4 separate regions of the Homo sapiens genome follow, and regions 2, 3 and 4 are each linked to region 1. Evidence: promoter capture Hi-C in 16 types of primary human blood cells and fetal thymus (Javierre and others, 2016). All regions are on one chromosome and are shown on one strand. The core of a region is centred on a gene start or on the middle of the fragment in contact, and the rest is flanking DNA. Distances in the headings are between cores, read along the strand shown. Region 1 holds the start of TDRD12 (tudor domain containing 12). Region 2 overlaps CEP89 (centrosomal protein 89). Region 3 overlaps CEP89 (centrosomal protein 89). Region 4 has its middle 1.7 kb from the start of SLC7A9.

Region 1 (3,327 bases), core at 285-2,784:
TTTCCTTTCTCCAATAACCCATACCCACCCCTCTGCTCTGGCCTGTCAACTCCTTCCTCCAGCAACGCTTTCCCCTTCACCAATGAGCCCTCACTGGACTCCAAGGGGGAAAAGCAAGGGTCCAGGCGGGCGTCCCTTCCCCGAGGACTAGAACAACGCCCACGCAGAGCCCACGCGGTGAGCGGATAGGGCAACAGAGACTGGGGGCATGAGGGAAGCCCGGACCCATGGGCTGGGGCTGCCCGGGCCACCCGACCCTGTCCAGGCGCCGAGCCTAAGGGCCCCGTGGAGTACGGAGAGCGGGGCCCTGGGGACGCCAGTGTCGCTTGGCCCGGGTGATCGAGCATTCGGAGGAGCAACCAATTCCGCGCTCCTCCAGGTGCATCCCGGAGCACGCCAGGGCCCGTGAAACCCGGGCTCATCCGGGTTCTACCCCAGCTCCCAGCCCGGGGTGCCCCCTGGTGGGGGCGCAGGGAGGGTTCAGGTGGGGGAGGGCGGGGTGGGGTTGGAGTGGAGGTGGGGTGGGCTGCGGCTGGGGTGCAGGTGGGAGTGGAGATGGGGTGGTGGTGGGGTGTGTGGGGCTGAGTGTGGGGGGATGAAATGTTGGGGTGGAGGTGTGAGTGGGGGCGGTGGGAATAAGGATGGGGTGGGGACAGGGGCGAGGGTGTGACTGTGGGGTGGGCAGCGATAAGGAAACGGGTGGGAGCTGGGGCTAGGGTAGGAGTTGGGGGTGTGTGGGGTTGGGAGTGGGATGGGTTGGGGTGGGAGTGGGGTGGGAGTGGGGGCGTGGTGTGGCGGCATGGGATATACGGGGTTGGGATGTGTGGGAGTGGGATGGAGTGTGCAGCAGTGAGATGGGGTGGGGGCATGTGTGAGTGTGGGGGTGGAGCTGGGTGGGAGTGGGTGTGGGAGGATGTGTGGGTTGGGGGAGGAGTGGGCGTGGGGAGTAGGTGTGGGCTGAGAGGGAGTGGACATGGGGGGGATGCGTGGGCTGGGAGGAGTGGGTGTGGAGGGATGTGGAGGCTGGGATGGGGGGAGGGGTGGGGGCTGTGTAGGGTTGGGGTCGGGGGTGGGAGGCTGTGCGGGGCTGCGGTGGGTGTAGGAAGCTGTGCGGAGCTGGGGTGGGGGTGGGAGGCTGTGCGCGGCTGGGGTGGGGGTGGGGGACTGCGTGGGTCTGGCGTGGGTCTGGCTTGGCGGCGCTCACCTTCAGCACCAGGAGCTGGAGCATCCTCCTGGCGCCCGAGGGCAGATGGGCCCCCTCGCCCTGGAAGTCCCCTACCGTCGCGGGTGAGGCTGGCTGCGTCCGCCCCGGCCAGGCCCCCGCCGCGAGTGCGTTCCTTCCCTCCACCTTTAGCGCCTGGGCCCCCCGCGGCAGGTGCCCCACACTCCTCGTCCCCAGGAGCCCTCGCGGACCCCGGGGTCGGCTCGAGGCAATGCGCTCCGTCCTGGCAGTAACCAGCCCCTCGCTGCGGGATCCCTGCCTGCCTGGCCTCGGGCCTCCCGCACCCACCGGATGCCCGCGCACGCTGAGCAGGCCTTGAGGCGTCGGAGACCACGTGGTCCACCCAACGGCCCAACAACGTAAGGCACAGCGCCACGCGGTGGCCAGGAGGACTGACGCGCGGAGGCCCTGGGAGGCCCGGCTAGGGGTCGCGTGATTCTCTCTTTTGCAGCCAGCAGGACTGCCCTGCAGGCCCCAGGGACACTCGCCTGTCCCCCGGAGGGACAGAGGGGCCGCGTGCGGCTGAGTCCGTTGGAAACCACCTTTGCAAAATTGTAACTGAGGAAATTGTGATGGTGAAAGAAATCAGACCTAATCAACTCCATCTTGCCTCTAACCTTTAAGCTGTCCTTGTTTATTCCTGGGCGGAAGCCCAACTAACCTTGGGAAGGAATTCAGTCCATGGTTTGACTCTGAAACAAAATTGATAAGAGCCTGTGAATCCTGAAAATGTGAGATAGGTCTCAGTTCATTTAGAAAGTTTATTTGGCCAGCAGAGCGAGGTGGCTCAGGCCTGTAATCCCAGCGCTTTGGGAGGCGAGGGGTGCGGATCACCTGATAAGGTTAGGAGTTGGAGACTAGCATCCTCGACATGGTGAAACCCCGTCTCTACTAAAAATAGAAAAATTAGCCTGGCATGGTGGGGAGCGCCTCTAATCCCAGCTACTTGGGAGGCTGAGACAGGAGAATCGCTTGAACCCGGGAGGCAGAGGTTTCAGTGAGCTGAGATCAGGCCACTGCACCCCAGCCTGGGCGACAGAGTGAGACTCTGTCTCAAAAAACAAAACAAAACAAAAAATTTTGCCAAGGTTGAGGACAGGCGCCCCTGACACAGGAAGTCCTAACGACATTTGCTAGACGTGGTCGAGGCACAGCTTGTGTTAAAGTTGGAGGGTGTCCAGGTTCTTGGTGTCTTGAAGAAAGAATTTGACAAAAGGCACACACAAAGCAAGGAAGGAATGAAGGGTTTTATTGAAAAAGTACACTCCACAGTGTGGGAGCAGGCCTGAACACAGGGACTCAAAGGCCCGGCAGAATTTCTGTGAATTTAAATACCTTCTGCTTGGGGTACGCCCGATGTAAATGAAGACGGTGAAGTAAAGTTACGAAGTCATTTACTCGGTGTATGCCCTATGGAGAGGGTATTTCCCCTTATAGCTGAAGCGTGAATCGGCCTTATGTTCCCTACCTCCAGACCCTATTTTCCTGCCTCACTTGGTCTTTTACATTTTAGGGAGGCATGAGACAACAATCCTTGAATCAGCTCAGTGGATCAGCTGACACCACCCACACCGATAATCTGCCTCAACCAGTTCTGCCAAACCAACCAGGAAGAGTAAATAGCAAGAAAAACTCCAACAACCTCTGATTCCATCTTCAACCTGGCCAATCAGCACTCCCCACTTCCCAAGCTCCTACCCGCCCAATTGTCTTTAAAAACTCTGTTCCTCAAATGCTCGGAGAGACTGATTTGAGTAATAATAAAACTCCAGTCTCCCACACAGCCGGCTCTGCGTGAATTACTCTTTCTCCATTGCAATTCCCTGTCTTGATAAATTGGCTCTGTCTAGGCAGCGGGCAAGGTGAACCCATTAGGTGGTTACAAGTTCATTATTTTATTTTTAAAGAGACAGGATATGGCTCTCTTGCCCAAGCTGGAGTGCAGTGGCACAATCATGGCTCACTGCAGCCTTGAATTCCTGGGCTCAGTTGATCCTCCATCTTCAGCCTCTCAAGTAGCTGGGACTACAGGCATGCACCACCACGCCTGGATAATTTTTTAATTTTTTTGTAGAGATGGGGGTCTCGCTGTGTTGCCCAGGCTG
Region 2 (3,327 bases), core at 459-2,958, 230 kb before region 1:
ACAGGGTTTCTCCATGTTGCCTAGGCTGGTCTTGAACTCCTGACCTCAAGCGATCCGCCTGCCTCAGCCTTTCAAAGTACCTGGATTACAGGTGTGAGCCACTGTGCCTAGCCCCTTTTTCTTTTTTTCACCATCATTATAATGTGTTATTCATAGTGTCTGTACATATAGACCAGCAGCATTAAGCTACACCGGTATTGATTATATGTATATTAATTAGCCCCTACTATATTAAAACACTTTTTTTTTTTTAAATTGAGATGGGGTCTCACTGTCCCCAGGCTGGAGTGCAGTGGCACGATCCTAGCTCATTATAGCCACCTCCTCCTGGGCTCAAGTGATCCTCCCACCTCAGCCTCCCGAGTAGCTGGGGCTTTAGGCACGCGGCACCACAACTGGCTTTTTTTTTTTTTTTCTATAGGGCCAGGGTCTTGTTATGTTAGCCAGACTGGCCTTGAACTCCTGGGCTTAAGCAATCCTCTTGCTTCGGGCTCCCAAAGTGTTGGGATTACAGGCATAAGCCAACGCCCCTGGCCCTAAAATACATTTTAAATGGTCTTCAGGAGCTTATTTTGAGGGATCCTTATGTGGCTGTTTCATGAACTCACCATCATTTTCCCACATATACAGACTTTCACACATAGAATTAGGCTTCTCATAGCAAGCAGCTCTGGAATAGGCAGACACTGCCCAGAGCTCAATATGGACAACTGTGCTCCTGTCGAGCTCTGCAGGGCTCAGAATCAGTCCCACTGCTCCTCACCCGCACACTTGCCGGCTGGTTATTTTGTACCGATGTTACACATAGAGTCATATCTCTCCACTGTTCTAGAGGGAAAGCTTACTACAATATTTCCCTTGGAAGAAAGAGATACAGTGACCTACAGAGACTCTTTCCTTGCTAGAAGGACAGATATTTTGTTTTTTTAGGCAAGTCTGTTAGGGTGGCTTTAGGAGCCATGTGTAGTAGGAAAATTTTTAAATTTTAACATGTGAAAAGTAGAAAATAATAAATAATAAAATGTTACCATTAGGGTAGATGTTGCCTTGTCCCCTAACCCCACTCCCTCCTTGGAAACTCATCTTTTCTTGGATTTGGAGTGCATCCTGGAAGTTTGTGTTTTTATTCTTTTACTACAAGTTTAAGTAAACAACTGTAGTAGTGTGCGTGTGTGTGTGTGTGTGTGTGTGTGTGTGTGTATATATATATATATATATATATAATTTTTTGTTGTTGTTTATTTCTTTTGAGACAGAGTCTTGCTCTGTCGCCCAGGCTGGAATGTAGTGGTGCAATCTTGGTTCACTGCAACCTCCGCCTCCTGGGTTCAAGTGATTCTCCTGCCTCAGCCTCCCAAGTAGCTGGGACTACAGGTGCCCGCCACCATGCCCAGCAAATTTTTGTATTTTTAGTAGAGATTGGGTTTCATCATGTTGGCCAGGATGGTCTCGAACTCCTGACCTCAGGTGATCCTCCCAAAGTGTTGGGATTACTGGCGTGAGCCATTGCGCCCAGCCAAGCCTTTTAAAGTATGTTTATATAAAGTATCACAAATTCTTTATGAAGGTATGTTTTTAGTAGACTTATTTATTGATATATAAAATATGCACAAGAAGTGAGTAAATCATAAGTGCACATTTCGATACATTTTCAAAAAGTAGCCACCACTCAGATTAAAAAAAAATTACTTGTACCCTAGAAATCACCCTTCTTCTTAGTCACTACTTCCCACAGAGTTAACCATTGCCAAGATTAGCTTTAATCTTTAAAAATAACCTGAGATTAGCTTTGCCTGTTCTGAAAATTTACATGCATTTAATTAGACGATATGCATTATTTGGAGTTTGGGAGTCTTCAGTTATTGTGTATAGCAGGGGCGGGTTTGTTCTCATTGCTGTATATTTTACTGTACAACCGTGCCACTCAGTTATTCATTTTACTGATGACAGAGACTTAATTGGTTCCAGTTTGGGACTCTTAGGAATAGTGCTGCTGTGAACATTTGGCGATGTGTCCCTTGATGTACATATTTGTGTATTTCTGGTGGGTATATACTGAGGAATGGTATGTGTATGGTCATAGGGTATATGTACCATCAGCTTTAGTACCAGTAGATACTGCCAAACGATTGTCCATATTGAGCATCTTCTTAATGCTTTTTTTGTGGGGGTGAAGGGGGCAGAGTTTCACTCTTATTGCACAGGCTGGAGTGCAATGGCACGATTTCTGCTCACTGCAACCTCCGCCTCCTGGGTTCAAGCAATTCTCCTGCCTCAGCCTCCTGAGTAGCTGGGATTACAGGCATGTGCCACCACACCTGGCTAATTTTATATTTTTAGTAGAGACAAGGTTTCTCCATGTTGATCAGGCTGGTCTTGAACTCCCGACTTCAGGTGATCCGCCTGCCTTAGCCTCCCAAAGTGCTGGGATTATAGATGTGAGCCACCATACCTGGCCCCTAATGCTTTTTAAGTCATCTTACCTATTTCACATTTCCTTGAGAATAGTGAGTCACTTAATATATTTTTGACAGGTTGAACAAGGAAGTTTGTTCCTGGGAGATAAAAAAGCTTGAGGTCGGCCTTGCGTGGTGGCTCACACCTATAATCCCACCACTTTGGGAGGTGGAGGTGGGAGGATCATTTGAGGACAAGAGTTCAAGACTGGCCTGGACACCATAGTGAGATCCTGTCTGTATTAAAAAAAAAAAAAAGTACGGGGCCATTTACTTTTTCTTTCTTCAAATGATGAGTATCTTGGGAGACCTGTTTGCTTCTCTTGAGCCAGGTCATCTTGGAACCATGTCCACAGAGACAGGTGGACGTAGCAGCCTTAGCTCTTACTCTGAAATGCCCCTTCTCATGGGCGTCTTGCTAGTCCCTGCCACCACCTCCTTGTCAGCCCCAGGGACAGCCCTTCCATTGCCTGCAGTGCAGCCCAGCTAAGCCAAACTGATCACAAAAGCAAGATTTTACTGAAGAATCAGGAGAGCCAAAGGGCAGCCCACCCAGACAGCGCCAGTCACAGTTTACCATGTAACAACTGGTTCAGGTCGAGTGCAGTGGCTCATGCCTGTAATCACAGCCCTTTGGGAGGCCAAGGCAGGAGGATCACTTGAGGCCAGAAGTTCAAGACCAGCCTGGACAACATACTGAGACCCCATCTCTACAAAAAATTTAAAAATTAGCTGGGCTTGGTGTCATACGCTTGTAGTCCTAGCTACTGGGAGGCTGAGGTGGAGGATTGCTTGAGCCCAGGAGGTAAAGGCTGCTGCAAGCCATGATTGCGCCACTGCACTCCAGCCAGGGTGACAGAGTGAGACCATG
Region 3 (3,327 bases), core at 457-2,956, 180 kb before region 1:
GATGGCTTACCGTCTGTAATCCCAGCTAATCAGGAGGCTGAGGCAGGAGGATGACTTGAGCCCAGGAGTTTGAAGCTGCACTGAGCAGTGATTGCACCACTGTACTCTAGCCTGGGCAACAGAGTGAGACCCTGTCTCAAACAGAACAGACAACAATACTAAGCAAAGAGGATGATTCACAAAGATAAAAGGCTCAATTTACCAAGTAGAATTCACACAAATTTAAATTTGTGTGCACCTAGAAATAATTTATGTCAATACATTTGAAAATTTAGATGAAATAGTCAAATTCTTTGAAAAGCTTACCTTAAAACTGACTCAAGAAGAAGAAGAATACCTGAATAGTCCTATAATCATTAAAAGAATTGAATTAAAAAAAAAAATCTTCCTTTGAAAACTCCAGGCCTGGATACCTTCACTAGAGAGCTCTACAAATATTCAAGGAAGAAATAATTTCAGTCTTACATAAACCTTTCTAGAAACAGAAAAAGAATTAATGCTCCTTAATCTAATGAGGTTAGTATAACCTTGATACCAAAACCCAACAGTGATCATATAAGAAAGGAAAATTACTTTTCATTTCACTTATGAATGTAGATGTAAAACTTCTATTAAATTCTAACATTCTAAAGTTCTATTAAAAAATACAGCTACAATAAAGATCACACCAAATAGGGAAATGTTGAAAGCTTTCCTATTGAGATTGGAAACAATACAAGGTTGCCCTCTGACACCATTTCTGACAACATTAACAGCACTGGCTACCAAGTGGTAACTGACACACGTGGCATGAAAAACTTAGAAGGTTTGGGAAAAGGGAAAACAATAGTGTCATTATTCATAAATGACATAATTCTATCTGTAGAAAACAAATCTACAAATCATTAAAAATAAGAGGTTTTAGCAAAATTGTTCAAAACAGAAAATTTATAAAAATTAATTGTATTTCTTTGTAGGAAAAAAATGTGTAGAAAATGGTATTTTGGGCCAGGCCTGGTGGCTTACACCTGTAATCCCAGCACTTTGGGAGGCTGAGGCAGGTGGATCATGAAGTCAAGAGATCGAGACCATCCTGGCTAACAGGGTGAAACCCCATCTCTACTAAAAATACAAAAATTCGCTGGGTGTGATGGCGCATGCCTGTAGTCCCAGCTACTTGGGAGGCTGAGGCAGGAGAACCGCTTGAACCTGGGAGGCGGAGGTTGCAGTGAGTGGAGGTGGCGCCACTGCATTCCAGCCTGGTGACAGAGTGAGACTCCATCTCAAAAAAAAAAAAAAGGAAGAAAGAAAATGATATTTTGAAAACTAAGGTAATGATAGGCTATCATCATGAGAAAAAATTTTTTTAATTAAAAGGAAGGAACCATCGACAAAGCTTCACAAATAGATGTGGAAAGATTTACAGTACTTCCGTTGGGAAAATTATGAAACTTTATTGATTACATGATTTCACTGGGTGAAGAATTCCAAGCTGACAGGTTTTTGGTAGTTTGTGGGTTTTTTTCCATTCAGTTTTAAAGATGCTGGCTGTTGATAGTCTTTTGGCTTGCGTCGTTTATGATGAAAATCTGCTGTCACGGTTATCTGTATTCTTCTGAAGATAACGTGTGTTTTCTCTGAGGCTTCTTTTAAGAATTTTTCATTGTCACTGTTTTTCAGCATTTTAATTGGGATATGCCTTAGCATGGTTTCTTTCTTTCTTTCAGACCCTTTTTTGCACAGGGTCTGGCTCTGTTGGACAGGCTGGAGTGCAGTGGTGCAATCACTGCTTGCTCCAGCCTTGACCTCCTGGGCTCAAGTGATCCTCCTGCCTCAGCCTCTCGAGTAGCTGGGACTACAGGCATGTGCCACTGCTCCCGGCTAATTTTTAAATCTTTTGTAGAGACAGAGTCTTGTTACGTTGCCCAGGCTGGTCTCAAACTCCTGGCCTTGAGGGAGCCTCCTGCCTTGGCCTTCCAAAGTGCTGGGATTACAGTGGGGGACCCCACACCCGGCCAGCATGGTTTCTTTACTCTACATGAAGTTCATTAAGCTTCTTGGGGCTATCAGTGTGTATTTTTCATCAAGTTTGGAAATCTTTTGGCTATTATTTCTTGAACGGTCTCTTCTGTTTTTCCCTCTCACCTCTCCTGGACTGCTTGATGTTGTCCTGTTGACTGTTCTGTTCACTTTTAGCCCACACTTGTTTCTCTCTGGGCTTCAATCAGACAGTGTCTATTACTATCTCTCTTCAACTTCACAAATCTATCCTTCTACAATCTAATCTGCTGTTAGTCCCATCCAATATATTGTTCACTTTGTGTAATGATTTTTCCCATCTCTGTAAGAAAGATCCATTTGAGTCTTTTTTGTATTCTCCGTCTCTGTCCCCAGCATGCTATTTTTCTCTTCTTTCTCAAATGTAGGAGCATGTTTTTCTAAAAACCTTTGTTTGCCAACGCCATCATCTCTCTCACTTCTGAATCTGTTCTGTTGATTTTTTCCCCTCCTGATCATGGATCATATTTTATTGCTTATTCTCATGCTTGATTGGGTGCTGGATGGTGTAGATTTTATGTTACAGGATGTTAGACATATTGCATTGCTTTAAATAGTGTTAGATTTCATTCTGGTGCACACTTAAGCCACTAGAGAATTGTTGGATTATTTATTTATTTGTTTACTTTCTTTTCTGTTTTCTTTTTTTTTTTCTTTTTGTAGAAACAGGGTCTTGTTATGTTGCCCAGGCTGGTTTTGAGGTCCTGGGCTCAAGGGATCCTCCCACCTCAGCCTCCCAAAGTGCTGGGATTACAGGTGTGAGCCACCGCATGTGGCTAAGCTGGATTCTTTCAAAGCTGATTTTTGTTAGGGTGGGCCCAAAGCAACCTCTAGTCTTAGGGCTAAGTTAGCCCCACTGCTAAGACAGTAACACTCTTCTAAGGATTCTATCCAATATCTCTTTTATTATAAGGCCTTTCCATTCTGACTGGTGGGGTATGAACTATTTCCTGTTCTTTGTGCATGTCAGAAATTGTTCTGCCTACTGTTTGTAGTGTTTCTTTCCTAGGCTTTACGCAGTTTCCTCTCACACACGGACAGATCAGTACCCAGCCAAAGACCCTTCAAGGTCTCTAGAGCCCTTTCTCGCTCCGTGAAACGCCCTCTGCCCTGCCCTGGAAATTCCAGCTGCCTTGACCTTCCTGCTCTTGGATCTCTGGCTCCTGGGCTCAGCAGGTGTCTGCCAGACAAGAAGGTGGAGGGAGCAGTTGCAGCACTCACCTTGTTTTCCCTTCCCTTTGGGATCACAGTCCTGCCTCGCCTGTTGTCCAAAGTCCGAAAACTGTTGTT
Region 4 (3,327 bases), core at 362-2,861, 150 kb before region 1:
TTAGAGAACAAGGCACCCAGCTGGGCAGCCCAGAGGCTGTGCAGAAATGGACTGACACTATGGGATTAAAGACGTCTTTAAAACCATCACAGGAGGCCAGGTGCAATGGCTTACGCCTGTAATCTCAGCACTTTGAGAGGCTGAAATGGGAGGATCACTTGAGCCCAAGAGGTCAAGGCTGGAGTGAGCCATGATCACGCCATTGCACTCTAGCATGGGAGCAAGAGACCCTGTCTCAGACACAAACCATCACAGGAGAAGGAAATGTTGGGGCTCAGGACACACCACCCCCAAAATATGACTGTAGGAGACTAGATATATATCACCCCAAATTATACTTCTTTGGAATATTTTGAGCTGGTTATTCTGAGAAACTGCAGACACAACAGGTGTAGCTCTGAAAAGCTGCCCTTTGCAAAAGAAATGTATGTCATGAAGGAAATCTACATTAGTACAAGTATCTGTACCAGGAAGAGACAACTTTTATTACCTGAGAGACTTATATCTGCATAACAAGACGACCTTTATTCGCCATGCATTTCCTCCCCTCACCATCCCATTACTAGTCCCTACCTGCCCCAGAAGCCCCAAGCCCCTAATCCTTATATAGCTCAGGATGCTATATAGGGTTTAGTCATCTGGCCCTTCTTCAAGTCTCTTGTTTTGTGGGACTCAGTTGCATATACACATAATTAAAACAGTTTTCCTCCCATTAGTCTCAATTCGAAGCCCAACCAAAGAACCCAAAAGGGTGGAGAGAAGCATTTTACCCTCCCCAACTGAAATCAAATGTGCACCAAATATAAGATAAAATGTAGATGGTGTGAAGATCTTCACACTGCAAGCATTTTTGCAATCGGAAGGGAAAAAGCACGGGTTGAAAATGAAGGTCAAGAGTCTTTAGCAGAAACTTAAGAAATAGAGTGGTTGGGCGGGTGTGGTGGCTCACACCTGTAATCCCAGCACTTTGGGAGGCTGAAGCGGGTGGATTACTTGAGGTCAGGAGTTCAAGATCAGCCTGGCCAACATGATGAAACCCTGTCTCTACTAAAAATACAAAAATTAGCCGGGTATATTGTCACACATGTAGTACCAGCTACTCGGGAGGCTGAGGGAGGAGAATCGCTTGAACCTGGGAGGCGGAGGTTGCAGTGAGCTGAGATCATGACACTGCACTCCAGCCTGGGTGACACAGCAAGTCTCAAAAATAAATAAATAAAATGGTAAAAATGACAGTAGGATTTGCGCTTTGGGAGGCCGAGGCAGGTGGATCACTTGAGGTCAGGAGTTCAAGACCAACCTGGCCAACATGGTGAAACCCCATCTCTACTAAAAATACAAAAATTAGCCAGGCATGGTGGTGGATGCCTGTAATCCCAGCTACTCAGGAGGCTGAGACAGGAGAATCACTTGAACCCAGGAGGCAGAGGTTGCAGTGAGCTGAGATCGTGCCACTGCACTCCAGCCTGGGCGACAGAGTGAGGCTCCATCTAAAAAAAAAAAAATTGACAGCAGGGAGGTGAAACTTCAGTCACATGGCAGAAGCACTGGATACACAATGAACCAATGGTCTTCAAGAACTGAGGAAAATTTTGCTTTTTAAATGAAATCCGTATTATTTTCCATGAGGAAGAGCTTATGAGAATTACTTGAATACTTTCTGTGTATTCAAGGGAGGGAGAGGGTGGGACTGCGGTGAAAAACACAACTTTAAGAAACAGGCTTAAGAAATGCTCACCGTGGACCCAAAATGAACTGAAGTGGAGGTTTCTGACTTAACAAAGGACCCTCACATCCCGATGTTCCAGACTCGGCACTTGGAAGAGGCCCAGGAAGACCAGAGGGCTGGTCCCGGACATTCATGGAACATGCAAGTTCAGTGTGTTCCGTGAGGAGGCGCCTGTTGCTCGCCCTGCGTCGCAGGTTCAGACCCTGATCCTGGCAGTGCTGCCTGAGCCCATGTGGGTAGTGGGTGAGGTTGCAGGGCTGTCTGGCCCCAGCGGGGGACCACTGCCCCACCCTGATGTCCTCACGTGGTCTCCTGTCAGCCTGCCAGGAGCACTTTTGACCCAGGGGGTATTCTGTGGTGTTTTGCAAACATGGATGTGCCAGGTACTATGATGAGTGCTGCAACATTAGGAGGAGTGACCCCAGCAAGCCGGTGGGCAGGTTCTGTCTAGGGTGGCAGGACCTGCCACTAGCCTCTCTGCTCAGGGCTCTGGGCATGGCAGGCAGGTAAACAGGTGGGCCCTCCCAAGATGGGAGGTGACGAACTTCTAAATCAGGACCGTGCCTCTGGGACAACAAGGGTCCCTGTGCTCTGCAGACGGCTTTCAGAGAAACCTGTGCCTCTCTCAGGTCTGCTTGCCCCAAACTGCTCCCAAACTGACCCCCAGAGACTGGCCCAGCTCCTTCCATCCCTGACCTTTGCTTCCATCTGATATCTGGGATGCAGTTAAGTTTGGCCCAAGGCAAAGCTACCAGAGTTTTGGCTGAAGGTAACAGCTACGATGCTTCAGATGCAGTGCTTATGCTGTGCCAGGCTGTCTCATAAGGTCTCATAAGGTGCTTCCTTCCCTATCTGAAAGGGCTTCGTGCTGACCCCTGAGGCTGCCGCCTGAGCCTAGGTCCAATCGCAGTGCGGGAGAACCTCTGCTCCCTCCCAGAGAGATCCAGACCCTGGCAGCCCTGGATGCGGACCGGAGCTTCCTGGCCTTGTGTTGCCTGTCCCCCTCCGTTTCCCCGAAGGGGAAGGTTTTGTGTCCCTTGTGATGAGCCAGGACATGGCTACGTGAACAGCACCACAGCCAAACCTGATGGGCATTTGGCCGCAGCTGCAGGGAGGACACGAGGCCCTGCATTGCCTCAGGCCTGCTTGTGATTCCAAGTGGTGAAGCCCCATCACTGGTAAAGAGGAGTGGGACGGGCTCAGCCGCTCTCACCTGCTCAGCCAGAGGCAGGCCCTTGGCTTGGGGGAAATTCCTGGGCGGGGAGGAAACTGACCAACAGCTGAGTTACGCACACACAGCGGTTCCTGTTTGAGCTGCCTGACTTGGGTTTTAAATATAGCCTATTAAGGCAATTAGCGAATTGGTTCCAAAGTTTATCTCCTCTGATTCCCAAAGATAAAAGAAGGCATAATTTATTTTATCTTTAGGTAAAAAGTGTAGACGATTTGGGACCATCTGGTTTTAAAAAAATAATCTGACCTAGACACAAATGAACAAAACAAAAACGGTTTTGGAGAGAAATTGGTGTTCCTGACCCTCCCCTTTTTTGTGTGGCGTATCTAAGCTTCATTGCAAAAAAAAAAAAAAAGGTGTTTAA

What was found. Contacts are between HindIII fragments. The CHiCAGO score rates a contact against its expected background, and 5 or more counts as called.
Region 2: a fragment that was not itself captured here is called in contact with the fragment with the promoter of TDRD12 in region 1 in 1 of 17 cell types (naive CD4 T cells); the score reaches 5.0 in naive CD4 T cells.
Region 3: a fragment that was not itself captured here is called in contact with the fragment with the promoter of TDRD12 in region 1 in 2 of 17 cell types (non-activated CD4 T cells and naive CD4 T cells); the score reaches 5.8 in non-activated CD4 T cells.
Region 4: a contact is called between a fragment that was not itself captured here and the fragment with the promoter of TDRD12 in region 1, in 1 of 17 cell types (non-activated CD4 T cells). The highest score is 5.3, in non-activated CD4 T cells.

What each region holds. Positions count from the first base shown.
Region 1 is chr19:32,717,974-32,721,300 of GRCh38, reverse strand. TDRD12 (tudor domain containing 12) reads right to left here and starts at 1,534. Exons shown (of 33, transcript NM_001366102.1): 1 at 1,205-1,534. The coding sequence starts at 1,228. The HindIII fragment of the contact is 20,000 bases long and covers 1-3,327 here.
Region 2 is chr19:32,949,408-32,952,734 of GRCh38, reverse strand. All of the region lies in intron 4 of CEP89 (centrosomal protein 89), which reads left to right. Among named protein-coding and RNA genes, the nearest start is that of CEP89, 21 kb to the left of the region's middle. The HindIII fragment of the contact is 1,731 bases long and covers 843-2,573 here.
Region 3 is chr19:32,902,548-32,905,874 of GRCh38, reverse strand. The region is part of intron 14 of CEP89 (centrosomal protein 89); the gene reads left to right. Among named protein-coding and RNA genes, the nearest start is that of SLC7A9, 34 kb to the right of the region's middle. The HindIII fragment of the contact is 657 bases long and covers 1,378-2,034 here.
Region 4 is chr19:32,869,829-32,873,155 of GRCh38, reverse strand. No RefSeq gene overlaps it. Among named protein-coding and RNA genes, the nearest start is that of SLC7A9, 1.7 kb to the right of the region's middle. RefSeq lists enhancers at 2,039-2,561, 2,562-3,084. The HindIII fragment of the contact is 3,371 bases long and covers 1-3,296 here.